2 separate regions of the Homo sapiens genome follow, and region 1 is linked to region 2. The links are contacts of gene promoters, found by promoter capture Hi-C in human tissues and cell types (Jung and others, 2019). All regions are on one chromosome and are shown on one strand. The core of a region is centred on a gene start or on the middle of the fragment in contact, and the rest is flanking DNA. Distances in the headings are between cores, read along the strand shown.

The links. The method cuts DNA at HindIII sites, captures the fragments that hold promoters and counts their contacts. A contact is called where the count stands out against the background at its distance.
Region 1: a fragment that was not itself captured here is called in contact with the fragment with the promoter of TSPYL5 in region 2 in 1 of the 25 tissues and cell types used here (H1 embryonic stem cells).

What each region holds. Positions count from the first base shown.
Region 1 is chr8:97,309,367-97,316,040 of GRCh38, forward strand. The region is part of intron 2 of LOC101927066 (a long non-coding RNA gene); the gene reads right to left. Among named protein-coding and RNA genes, the nearest start is that of TSPYL5, 35 kb to the left of the region's middle. The HindIII fragment of the contact is 3,593 bases long and covers 848-4,440 here.
Region 2 is chr8:97,275,922-97,282,078 of GRCh38, forward strand. TSPYL5 (TSPY like 5) reads right to left here and starts at 2,007. Exons shown (of 1, transcript NM_033512.3): 1 at 1-2,007. The coding sequence starts at 1,923. The coding sequence ends at 670. The region is part of intron 2 of LOC101927066 (a long non-coding RNA gene); the gene reads right to left. RefSeq lists an enhancer at 1,044-1,545. The HindIII fragment of the contact is 7,330 bases long and covers 1-5,332 here.

The DNA.
Region 1 (6,674 bases), core at 1,394-3,893, 34 kb after region 2:
ATCAGTGGTGGCATTAGATTGTCACAGAAGTGTAAACTCTATTGTGAACTGTGCATGTGAGGGATCTAAGTTGCACACTCCTTATGATAATCTAATGCCTGACCTAAGGTGAACAGTTTCACCTCAAAACCATCCCCCACCACCACTATCCATGGAAAAATTGTCTTCCATGAAACCAGTCCCTGGTGCCAAAAAAGGTTGGGGACTGCTGCTCTAGAAGATGATAATTTGCTTATGGTCCTCTAGGAGGTGGTAATTTGTTCCAGAAGAAAATAATTGATAATTTTGGGTATCCTATTAATTATTGGGACTTATTAAACTAAGAGACTTTGTGTTGAATTAATTCACTTCAAAGGCACCAAAGGAAACACACATCTTCCACTCAAAGGAACTGTACACTCAGGCCCTGAGAATCCTCCTGGTCCAGCCTGAGCCAAACATGCCTGAGAATGGTTCCGGCCATCAGACCAAAGATGTCCCAGTAAACTTACAAATCACATCCTTGATGCCTTTCTCACCCCAGCTGTCCTCCAGCATCTCCTTCTCCTGCTCCTGACTCCCATCTCCCCAACTGCCATGCCCCACTCCCTCCCTCTTGTTCCCTCTCTGACAATGAGCCTTCTAGAGCCATGCTGTCCACTGTGATAGCCACACATGGCTATTAAGCTCTTGAAATGCAGCTCTTCAAAATTCAAATGTGCTGTAAGATTAAAATACATGCTGGATTTTGAGGACTTGGTATGAAAAGAAATAAAATATCTCAGTAGTTTTTGTAGTAATTAGATGTTCAAATGATAATTTGGGGGGTTAAACATAACATACTAAAATTAATTTTATTTATTTCTTTTGCCATTTTTTTCTCTTTTATTAAGTTGGTGCAAAAATAATTGCAGTTTTTGCCATTGAAAGTAATGCCAAAGGCAGTAATAACTTTTGCACCAACATAATACCTTTTCTAAATTAAAAGATTTAAAATTACCTATGTGGTTCACATTTCCTTCCTTCCTTCCTTCCTTTCCTTTTTTTTTTTTTTTTTTTATTTTTTGGACACAGTTTTACTCTGTTGCCCAAGCTGGAGTGCAGTGGCACTATCTCAGCTCACTGCAACCTCCGCTTCCTGGGTTCAAGCGATGCTCATGCCTCACTCTCCTAAGTAGCTGGGATTACAGGCGTGTGCCACCATGCTGAGCTAATTTTTATATTTTTATTAGAGACAGGGTTTCGCCATGTTGGCCAGGCTGGTCTCGAACTCCTGACCTCAAGTGATCCACTCACCTCAGCCTCCAAGTGCTGGGATTACAAGCGTGAGCCTCCACGCCCAGACGGTTCACATTATATTTCTATTATAAGTCTGGTGCCCCAGGCCCCAGCCATCTCACTCCATCCTCCCCTACTCCTGGTCTGCTGAGGCACCCAAACCAACCTAACTTTCCTTCTTCTGTATGAGCATAAGATTTTGGTGTTCTTAGTTGGAGAATTATTTAATAAATGAACCATCACACCATGATCATAATGGTTGACTATGCTTACTTTTGTCTCTCCACTTGTACTTTTGAACACCTACCATGTTTATGGATTGTACTTGCTGTCAACGAGGCATACCAAGGAAGATAGGACAGCCCCTGCCATCCAGAAGCTAATAAGCTGGCAGGGTGTCCTCATTTAATTAGAGTAATCCGAAACACTGACATATCCTCCCATAAAGGAATGAATCAAACAGGAATTCTAGGCACCATGGAGGAATTAGGAAAACTATTTGTATTATGGGTTATAAAGAAAGTTTCATGGAGCCCTTCAATTCATACCACGTGTGTCTACATGCTTCCAGCCCACTGCATTGTCAAGCAGTTGCAGGCTTTTGGTTTTTCGAGGGTTTTTGTCCCTGACAAGAATTACGAGGTATCTCTTTCTCTGGTGCAGACAGAGAAGAAAAGTAAATGACTTGAGCCAAGTTAGAGAAATAAAACAAAATGTCAAAATATCTTCTATTCTGTCTCATCCATTTGAAGAGCCAGGTGTCTGGGAGCTGTGCCTTGATGGGTTCACCCTACAACATTTTCTTCCCATTTCTGCTCAAAGCAAAACCAATTAAACAAGAGCCCCACTCAGAGAGGAAATAAGTTCTGAGAGAATGGTTATTTTGTCTCTTTTCTCTTTTCATTGAGGAAGGTAATGGCGCCAGTTCAAGAAGCCAAGGATAATTTTGTTCATAAATTGTATACTTTGACCTCATGGTTTTTAGCACAAATTAAAGATGGGATCCAGTTTCAGTTCTCTTTCTTTTGAATTGGATTATTTTAAAAGAGGGATGTTTTCCCTGAAGTATTTAGTATTTGCAACCCAAACATTTTCTGCTCATGGCTGTCTACAGGGCTGCCTTTTAGATATAAATGTTCCTAATAGATCACAGTTTGAGGCTTAAAATGTCCATGTTTATCCCAACATGTTTATTTCCTTTCTCCTTCTGCAGACACTGTAGTCAATTTCTTTTCCAACCCTTTTTATCTCAAAGAAAACAAGCTTTATCATTTGGAAGTGTATCTCATGCCATAAAACCAGGTCAATATTAAGAGAAGAGTGTAATCACATAGATCAGTATCAGACACCAAATGCAGGATTTAGAGTGGAGAAAGATGAGATTGTAATGACCACAGTAATTAATTGCAAAGAATGGAGAAAATAGAGCCCAAGCTTAACTGTGGAGATCTTATTTATTGGGACCTCAGTCCCTGTGCCCTGGGACTGAGATCCCTCCAGGCAGGAGAAAAAAAACACTCTACTCTGTCTACCTTCAGCTGCCATAGTTAAGTCTGAGTGCCAGGTTCTGGTTATAATCAATCACTGACTTATTTACCATGCTGTACAGACATTCCGGCCCTGAATGCACCCACAGTTTACAAGGTTCATGATTTTCTTTGTGCCTATATGCCTCCCTCCCCTCACACCAGCACCATGCTTATCTCTTTCCTTGCTCATCCATGCCTGCCAACCTATATGTCCTCTCTTCTCCCTACTCAAGAAGAACCTCCTCTGAAACACCTTCTCCTTTTTACTTTCTCCTCCCTTTTGCCTCTAAAGTTTGTGTATTTCCAGAGGCAGGCTTCTCATCTCAGTCTCTAGTATGTACCCAATCGCAAGAGTTCAACAGCATCCCTGGACCCTTCGTCTCTCCTGATGAGGCCCCTTTGCAGCACTTGGTTTCAATCCTACTTATCTAACTCTTCCTGGAAACCCTCAATTTGTCCCTCAGGATTCCTAAACAATATGTTCAAGTTGAGTTTATCATCCCCTTGTCTCCCGACCCATCATATGCTTACCAGCAGTGTCTCCCACTTCAAACCACCTCAACCTGCCCTTCCTTGTTAATTTTCTGTCTCAGTGAGAGAACTTCTGTCCCCCTAGATACCCAACCAGAAATTCTAGAGTTGGCTCTTCCACCTCCCTATGTCTTCCCTGTGATATTCAATAGGACTTCAAGTACTGTGCATTCTGCCTCCTGAACATCTCCCAAACCTGCGTCCTCTGCATCCCCTTCACCACCACCCTTGTCTTTTCATATTGGGATTCTCCTACCTATGCTCTCTGTTTTCATCCCAGACCCCCTGATCTGTCCTCTCTATGGCCACCAGAGTCATCTCTAAAAAGTGCAAATCCAGGAGAAGCCTTTGATGACTCCAGATTATTTTAGGATAAACTCTAAGCTTCTTCTAAGCACACAAGGTCCTGCATTTCTCTCAAACCCCACCTCTTGCTATAACCACAATGAAGTACTTGTGGTTCCCAAAGGTGCTCCTCTCTCTAGGCTCAGTGCCTTTATACCTGTCTTCCAGGAAGGTCCCTTATCCATATCTTTGTCTGGCTAAGTCTTACGTACTCTTCAAGCCTCAGCTCAGAACTTCCTTCAGGGAGACTTCTGTATCAGTTTGGATGTTTTCAGCTCAACTAACAAAATATCCAACTAGATATTTAATAGTATAATAAAGAGGTTTATCTCCCCAGTAAGATGTCTGCAGCAGCAGTTTCACAGCTGGTTAATTTAGCAGCTGGAGGATGTCTGAACTCTGGGCTGCCTTTTTTTTGTCTTGGCTTTCCCGGTACGGACTCAAAATACATGCCTTAACTCTAAACATCAGATCCACACAAAGCCATAGTCAAAACAAGAAAAGAAGTGAGGAATTCCCCTTAGACACCTCTCCTTTTTATCAGAGAGAAAAACTTTCCCAGCAGACTTTGCATCTGGTTCCCTTAAGATCTGGGTCTCCCGTTTACTGTATTCAGACGACTGACAAAGGGAGAAGAGTTGTTGTGGCTTATCTGTGACTGCGGGAAGAAAGGTATCTTCTTTGAGTACACTCTGCCTCATATAGAATAAAATTAGTGTTCTCTTGGCAAAGACAGAGGCAGAGACAGTGACTGGGGGAGGCTACCAACAGTTTTGGCCATGGCTTCTTCACCCAGAGTCCCTTGCTCATGGCTCTCTTACCAGAGTGAGTTAGATGCTTTTCAAGTACTCTGTTATTGTCTTTCCAAAGTACAGTTTAGTTGTTGATTTACTTACCTATTTCCTTACACTAACCTCCTCAAAGTTGGGGACTGTTTTATACATCACAATTCCTTGGAGGACCTAAGACTTGAGACCTAGCTAAGGCCTAAGGCCTAGTGCATAGCAGGTGCTCAATAAAAATAAATCCATAAAAAGCATTGATTGAATGATTGTATCATTGAACTAATTAATTAGTAAATTGTCCAGGACACTTTCCACATAGTCTAGAATTGTAGTGCATTAATGCTAGTAATTTGACCCAATTGATATATGGCCGATTTGTGCTATTTGCTCCATGCAATTTCTATTGTCTTACTGTTTTTATGACTCAGCCCTGTGATTTGTTACCCACTGCAGCAGCAACCAAAGGACCATGTTCTTTTTTAAATAGAGTCAATGTTTTCTGGTCCTTCAAGCGGCCATCCTGGGGTTATTGAGACATCTTTTTTTTCTCTTGGTCCATCAGTGCTCTGCCAAGCCAGCCTGGATCAACATCATCTACCATCCTCCCATCTTTAGGGTAGAACTTCAAAGGCAGGGTTTCTTTTCCTAGGTCAAGTTGACCTGTAACTTCCATCTTCCTCATACTAACTCTCAGTTTGTAGAACTGCATAAGCTCTGCAAAGTGGTCACAAGCTTCTCATCCAGTCAGTGCCTTAACAAATATTTATTGAGGGAATTAATGAATGGATCATTTGACTGACTTGTGTGTAATCTGCAAAAACAGGCATAAGCAGACAAGAGTTCTCATTTAAAAGGTATGTGCCTCAGCTAAAACACCTTTTAAAATAACCAAACCAGCAGCTTTTATCAATGTTGGCATTCTTTCCTCAAACTAATTATCTGCTTATATAACTGACCTTATTAAGGGCTGTTGCCACCTTCTTAAGTTATCTTTGGACACCAAAATCAAACCCAAAGACAATTTATGATCTTGCCAGTTTCAAAGACTGCCATTTTGATGTGACCAGAATTCCCTATTGAATTCAGAAATCCAATGCAAATCTTTGTTGGAAAAGACGAATGTAAATTGAATCAATAAACGAATAATAAATAAAACAGTCGATGATTAACTTAGTCATGAAAATAAAAATAGAAGTGTCAACTGAAGCACCCTCTGCTAATTTTCTATTATAAGATAAACATTAGCTGGTTGATGAAAATTTGTTTTTGACATTTATACAGAAGATGGCTCCTTAGCAAACCAAAGCACTACAGAATACTGTCATGGCAATATCCCGTGTGACAATGAGGACTGTCCCATGGCAGAAATCATAGTCAGGTTCCTCGAGAATCCCCTCAGCACAGAAGAAACATCAAATAGAATGTTCTATTAGAAATTAAGGTCTGTGAAAACAAAGTCATAGAATCGTGCCCCAGACAGCCAGACAGGAATACCTCTTGATGCAGCTCCCCCAAGATGTAAACCAATCCATGAAACAAGGGAACAGAACTGCCAGCAAGCATTGCCCACCACTACGAACCAAAGGCCAATCTTGGCTCACCCAGTCATAAACTCCTAGAGGACAGAAACAGCTAGATGATGATATTATTTGTAAATAATAAGGCTTGAGCTGACTCTGAAATGCACGTTCATAAAATTGCTGAGTGAAGATGAGCTTTAGAACATAGTTAATCCAAATTCCTCTTCTAACTGAAGAAAAAACCAAGTTTTAACGAGGGAAAGGGACATGGCCAATCTCATGTGGCCCTCTCTGGGGAAGTTAAGACTGGACCCCTGGGCCCCTGACTCCTACCCAGGGCTCTTCCCACTTTATACCATAAAGTCCCTACCACATTGCCCTGCCTGCGGCTGGCTTTCAATACAACTTGATGAATAAATCATGTCAATCTTCATTATGTATGAGCATGGTCAGATCCCGGTTATGTGGGACCTATAATTCAGGGGGAGGGCCTTCTTTAAGAAAAAGGATGCAGACTGAGCGCAGTGGCTCATGCCTGTAATCCCAGCACTCTGGGAGGCTGAGGCGGGTGGATCACTTCAGGTCAGGAGTTCAAGACCGGCCTGGCCAACATGGTGAAACCCGTCTCTACTACAAATACAAAACTTAGCCAGGCATGGTGGCACGCACCTGCTGAGGTGGGAGGCTGAGGTGGGAGAATTGCTTGA
Region 2 (6,157 bases), core at 757-3,256:
ACACATGATGGTACAGAACACATGGCATACTGTTTCTTGCCCTTAACTTCATGCATGCCCAGCAGTCAAGTGCCATTCTGCAGAACATCAAGCAGGATGGGTATCACAGACCACAGGCCAAAGCCAGAAATAAAGCAGGTGACATCTCAGCTGGTGACCCCAGACCCACAGAACAGGAAGTTCTGGCTGATGACTAATACCATGTGCACTGGCTTCATTCTGCAGTGGCAATGGAAACGCTTGCATAGATGACATGCATGGCCAGCATGAACACGAAGCCCAGCAAGTCACTGGCCCTGAAGGAGCAGAGCTTGAGGATGCACTGGTCGTCCTGGAGGATGACTCATGAGTGTCCATGTTAAAGACAAGTAGGAAAGGCCAGAGCCAAGAACAAGGTCCAGGCAATGTAGATAACAGGGAGCACACATCTAAAGTATGTGTGCTTAACATATGAACAGTCCGGGTGCGATCACATAACATGTGACACTAACGTAGAAAAGCAAGAGGCTATGGGAGGCAAAAGAACATGATCATAAATGCCATATTCTTGTAACTAAAGTCCAAAGGGTCTATAGTACACAGAGGCCAACATGAAGAGAAGGCAGAGAGCCAAATATGTAGTCAACCAGGAGCAGCCCAGCAGGAGGTAGCAGGGAGACTTGTGCAGGATCAGTTGGATTGGCTCACCCCAGGCTGAGTAGTCTCCATTGGCTGCTTTCCTGGACCTTGCCTGCCTTCTTTTTCCTTTCCTTTCTCTACACGAGCCCCTTCACTCAAAAGGTAGAACTGCAAGGGATTGGGCCACAATTCTTCGTTGATTATCTCCACAATCTTGTCAGACTCAATGGAGCTGTGGTTTGAAAACCACCCAAAGAAACTACGGTTGTTTTCTGGGTTTCCCTGGCTTAGGGACTGGAGATCATGCCCTGGGAGCCACTGGATTGGAGTAGAACGAGACACCACCTGGCCAGAAGGACCACACCCATATTCCTTGATGAGCACCTTATTTTGGAAATACGGGTTGCGATCGAAGTAGAACTTGATTTTGTAGCCCAATCTGGCAAGGCCGAGCTCTTCCACTTCCAAGCTGTTTAAGTAGCTCAGTACCTCTTTCTCTTGGCTATTCAGAAAGGATGCTAGCTGGGGATGGTTCTGAAATGCTTGCCCCCAGAAGCCCGGGATATTTTGGATGAGGTGGTTCCTGCGCTCCAAGTGCTGCAGTCGCAACTGCCCAAACTTCCTGGAGAGCCGAAGGTAGGCCCTGTCCGCCTGGGCGTTCATGTTCTCCAGCTTCAGCTGCACGTTCTCCAGCGTATCCATGCTGCCTTCCGTCGCTGGGGGCCCCGACCCTGCATCCCTCTCTTCCTTCTTTTCCTCCCCAGCTGACACCGAGGTATTCTCCCCTGCCGCCCCTTTCTTCTGCCTCCCACCAGCTATGACCTGAGGCCCCCTCCCCGCGGTGCTACAGGTTTCTGGGGCCTTCTTCCCGGCAGGGCCACGCCGGTTTCCAACGCGGGGGGCATTTTTCGGCCTTCCCACGGTTCCCGCTGTTCCCACGAAGACAGTGTCTGCGGCCAGGCGCTCCGAGAGAGATGCGGCCTTCCCCGGGCCGGGCCTGGCCGCGGCCTGCCCGTGGTCCCCCGCAGCTCGGGCCCGCAGCGCGAGGCCACAGTCCAGGGGGAGCCGGCAGGCGGCCTCCTCCCCGAGCCGGAGGAGCTGCGCGGACGCAGCGGCTTCCAGGCCACCCCACCCCGCGCCAGCCTGCACCTGTGCCGCCTGGGTGTCTTCCCCGAGACTCTGGTACTGTGAAGGGTCCGGGTCGCGCGGGGCGTCGTCCGGAGCAGGGCGGACTCGGGCTTTGGCGCGGCCTTTGCCCCGGTTTTTGGCGCGGGAGGACTTTCGACCCCGACTTCGGCCGCTCATGGTGGCGGCGGAGGCAGCTTCAAAGACACGCTGTGACCCTGCGGCTCCTGACGCCAGCTCTCGGTCGGGACCGAGCGGGTCTCTCCACGGCAACCGCCGACGTCACGAACGTACAACTGTACCGTCGCGAGAGGACGTGATGCGCCCGGTGATTGGCGCCGCCGCTGCGGCTGCGCAGGAGACGACCCCCGCGGGCGCTCCCACCCCCATCTCGCGCGGACTCGCTTTAGGTCTCGGCGAGTTTCTCTGATATGCGCTCGCGGGGGTGCTGCCATTTCATCTCTTCCGCGCGGGCTCATCGTGCTCTCAGGGTCTCGTTGAACAAGGCAACGCTAAGAGCCATCACCACCTGTCCCCCATCACCTGTTTTCTAAACTAAACATCTTCAGCTCCTCCAGTTATCTCTTGTGGCATCTGTCATGAAGAAAGTGCTCGGGCGTGTGTGTCTCTCTTTGAACACCTTTGCTGAGGGATTTGCTCTGGTACCTTAACTCCAGAGAACGTAAAGGTGGATGCTATAATGCCGGGCGTCAAAGCGATTTGGTACGCAGTAAGATGATAGTAGAAATTATAAAAATAATGGCAACTAGTATTTTGTATCATTTGTGCCAGGCACTTTACTAGGTGCTTTAAATGCATTATCTCAATTTACAAAGGAGGTGTTGATATCATTCCCATTTTCGAGATAAGAAAACTGCATCTCAGAGACACCCGGGCACATTCCCCAGGTTACACAGTAAGGGATGGAAGCACAATTCAAACTCAAGCCCATGGGACTCCGTATCCTATGCCTTATATTTGGAAATGGCAAGTCCTTCCAGACTTGTTCCACTGTCAATTACTGGGCTGGCTCTTAAGAAATCAGCCTTGCTCCTTAACAAACAGGCTTCCGTGGACCACCTGACCACCTCTTCTGCCTGGGAACATCACCCGAGTCCCCCAGCTGCCTCAGTTTACAGATCTGGACTATCACTCTAGGTATAGGACCAGAAGTGAAGACCTGTATTAGAGCTCCTGTAATTGGAGTAAGACAAGAATGTGGTGAGAGGTGAAATTATTATTCAGGGAGCAGATTGAGGTTCAGAAGCAGAGCCTCCACGTGGCACTGCAGAAGCCCTAGAAACTTCTTACACTGTGCATGGAAACAGCCGGACAACCTCCCCCACAGTCCCGGAGGCAGCCCTGGACCACGCTCTTACTAGTGAGGTAATAGGACCATGAACAGTGAGGGGACCTGTGGCTAATGTAAAAATATAAAGAAAAACCTTTTGAGGTGGTCTTTTCAGGCTCAAAGGGAACAAAAAGGCCCTTGTAACCAGCTAGTGGAGAGATAAGCCCAAAAGCCCCGGGACCTCATTACTCAAAGTGTGGTTGTGGACCAGCAGCCTGATATCACCTGAAAGCTTGTTAAAGATGCAGAATCTCAGGCCTTTCCCCAGACCTACTAAGTCAGAATTTGAATTTTAACAAGATCCTGGGTGATTTGTATACACCCCTAAGTTTAAGGAAACAATTTAAAGAGGAATTATTTTTATACAGATGGCCCTATTTTAAGCCGGCCTAATACAAGTGATTCCTCATTTTCTCAAAAGCTCTAGAATAGCCTGCAAGGCCCTGTATGATCTGGCAAGTCTTCTATCTGCCACTACATGAGTTACCTCTCTGACCTCATCTTCTCTCTCCTCTCTCCCACCTCTAGCTACACTGGCTTCCTTGCTGTTCTTAAACTCACTAGGTAAACTCCTGCCTCAGAGCCTTTGCACTGGCTCTTCCTTCTACCTTAAATGCTCTTTCCCAATGTGGTTGGTGGCCTTGGCCAGCTGCCTTCACACTTTGCTTAAATGTCACCTTCTCAATGACCATCCTATTTAGAATTGCCACCCACCCCATCCCTTTATCCTATGGTACTTTTTCTTTATTCCAACACACTATACCAATTATTTATTATGCTTATTAACTATCTCTTCTCTCTAGAATGTCAGCTCCATGAGGGAAGAGATTTTTGTTTTGTTCACTGATGTATCCTCAGTGCCTGCAACAGTGTCTGACATATCAAGAGCACTTAATAAATACTTGTTGAAAGAAAGAACCAATCAAAGCAGAGTTTTCAAAAATGGGTTTGTAAATGATTGTCTGAAGTTCAGAATAGCTCCCCTTTTCCCACAGAAGCAATGCTATGGATGCTGTATTCTCAGATCAACTCATGGAAACCTACTAAACTCATAATTTAGCCAAAAAATTATCTTTTGTTACAGAGCACCATTCAGGGACAGTCTGTAAGTAAGAATTTAGAGTGACAAATTTAAAAATTAAGTTGGGAGATTTAATATTTGACTTAAAAGGGATTAATTAGTGCAAGGATTATCTTAAATTCTTGTTGAAGGCCCTTTCATAATAATTTCTTCCCAAGGCCTTCTGTGATCACCCCAGACCACAATAAGCAGCCTTGTCCTTGATCTCACAGAGTACTTGTTAACTATAGTATTCATTTGGCAGTGGGGCACACCCTGTTTTGTACCAGTTCTTTTACAAAATTACCTCTTAAGCTAGATAATCACAGCCTGAAACTCTCCGTAAACCTCAGAAAAAAAATTAAAAAATCATCTGACGCATTTGCCAACCCTCTATAGACTTTAGACATTGATGGGTTGGCCCACTTCTTAGAACACTCACAGATCAACCCATCTCTGTTGTCAAGAGTCTTAATCCAGCGTCAGCATCTGCGTCATGTAGCAGTCACCAATGGCTAAACCACTGTAGGATTAACACAGGGCTGGGCCATTGCAATGTGTTTATTATACAATCTGCCTTGAGCCTTTTTTCATCATGTCAAAGAGATAAGCATCAGATGAAGGGAAATAATTTAAAAAAATACCCCTCTGCTCTAAGCCACCCAGTTCCCCATGGCTTTTGTATTTAAGAGTTTGGTCTGTGCTGCTGAACTGGACTGTGTTTTCTTCTTGGGTCTTAATATTTAACTTTATGTGGAACTGTAGTTTGTGTTCCTAATTGGATAGTAAACTGTGTAAGTGTGGAGACTGTGTCTCTTTTTACTTTTATCTCTCAGAGTACCTAGCATGGGGCCTTGCACATACCAGTAATTATAATGAAAGTTTACATTTATTTCATACTTTTATATAGTGCTATGCCTTAACTCATTTAATCTCTGCAATCACCCCATGGGGCAGGTGCAATTATTGTTCTCGTCTTGGAGGAGGTTACTGCCACACAAAATGGTTCCATAACTTGCCCAAGGTCACACAGTTAATAAATGTTTTTTGCCCAAGCGATGCGACTCCAGCACCGTGCTCTTAATTAAAAATACATAATGTAAAATTATGGCTTAAGAGATTAAAACTCTCTCCAGTGGGTAAAAATACCTTTTAATGTTAAAAAAATTATATATATTAAAAATATATATACACACACATATGCAGATGCATACATATACACATAATACATACATCATTTAGTTATGAGTCATTTATTTATGGGGTATACAATATACCTGGCATAGCAATACTCAACATAAATTTAGTTTCAACAGCCCATGATGAGAACGAAGCATCTCTATTTGCACTGCATTTATCATAAGCATCCTGTTAATATTATGAAAGAAATGCAAGTTTACTGTCATGAACTCAGAGATCCTGGAGTGTTGTGAACTTCTTGCAATATCTGCAGGCTTAAGTTGATGGTAATATAAGCATTTAATTGATTATTTCTAATGTAATATTTATTAGCAAATATTTATTAGAAATTCATAAAATATTTTTCAAATGTTTATGTGTATTATGTCTATATGTATGTATATGCATATGTACTTGTGTGTATGTAATTCAAAATATTAGAATAAAAAATCTTCACTTTTGTTTTCTGCATATTGTGCTTTCTCCGTTCCTTTTGATATGTTTTCTTTGAATCACAGAAATTTACAAGCTGGGAAAAAGACATTTGTCATCCAGCCTATTCCTCAGCCAAGGGAACAATATTCCCCATCATTTCTCTCGTAGAGCTTTAGGATCCCAGACTTGACATTTTTAGCCACAGCACTTTTCTATTCTTCCCCAAGGAGAAAGTTTAAGTCTGTTAGATAGCAGTGAGTATTGCTTACTGTGTGGAATTTTGCCAACCAACCCTCCCAGGTTACCAAAGGGTATGGAAAAGAAGGCAGTGTCCTAAGAAATATTTTCATAGTCAAGGAGGGAGGGAGAGAAAAATCTGCCTCTTATGA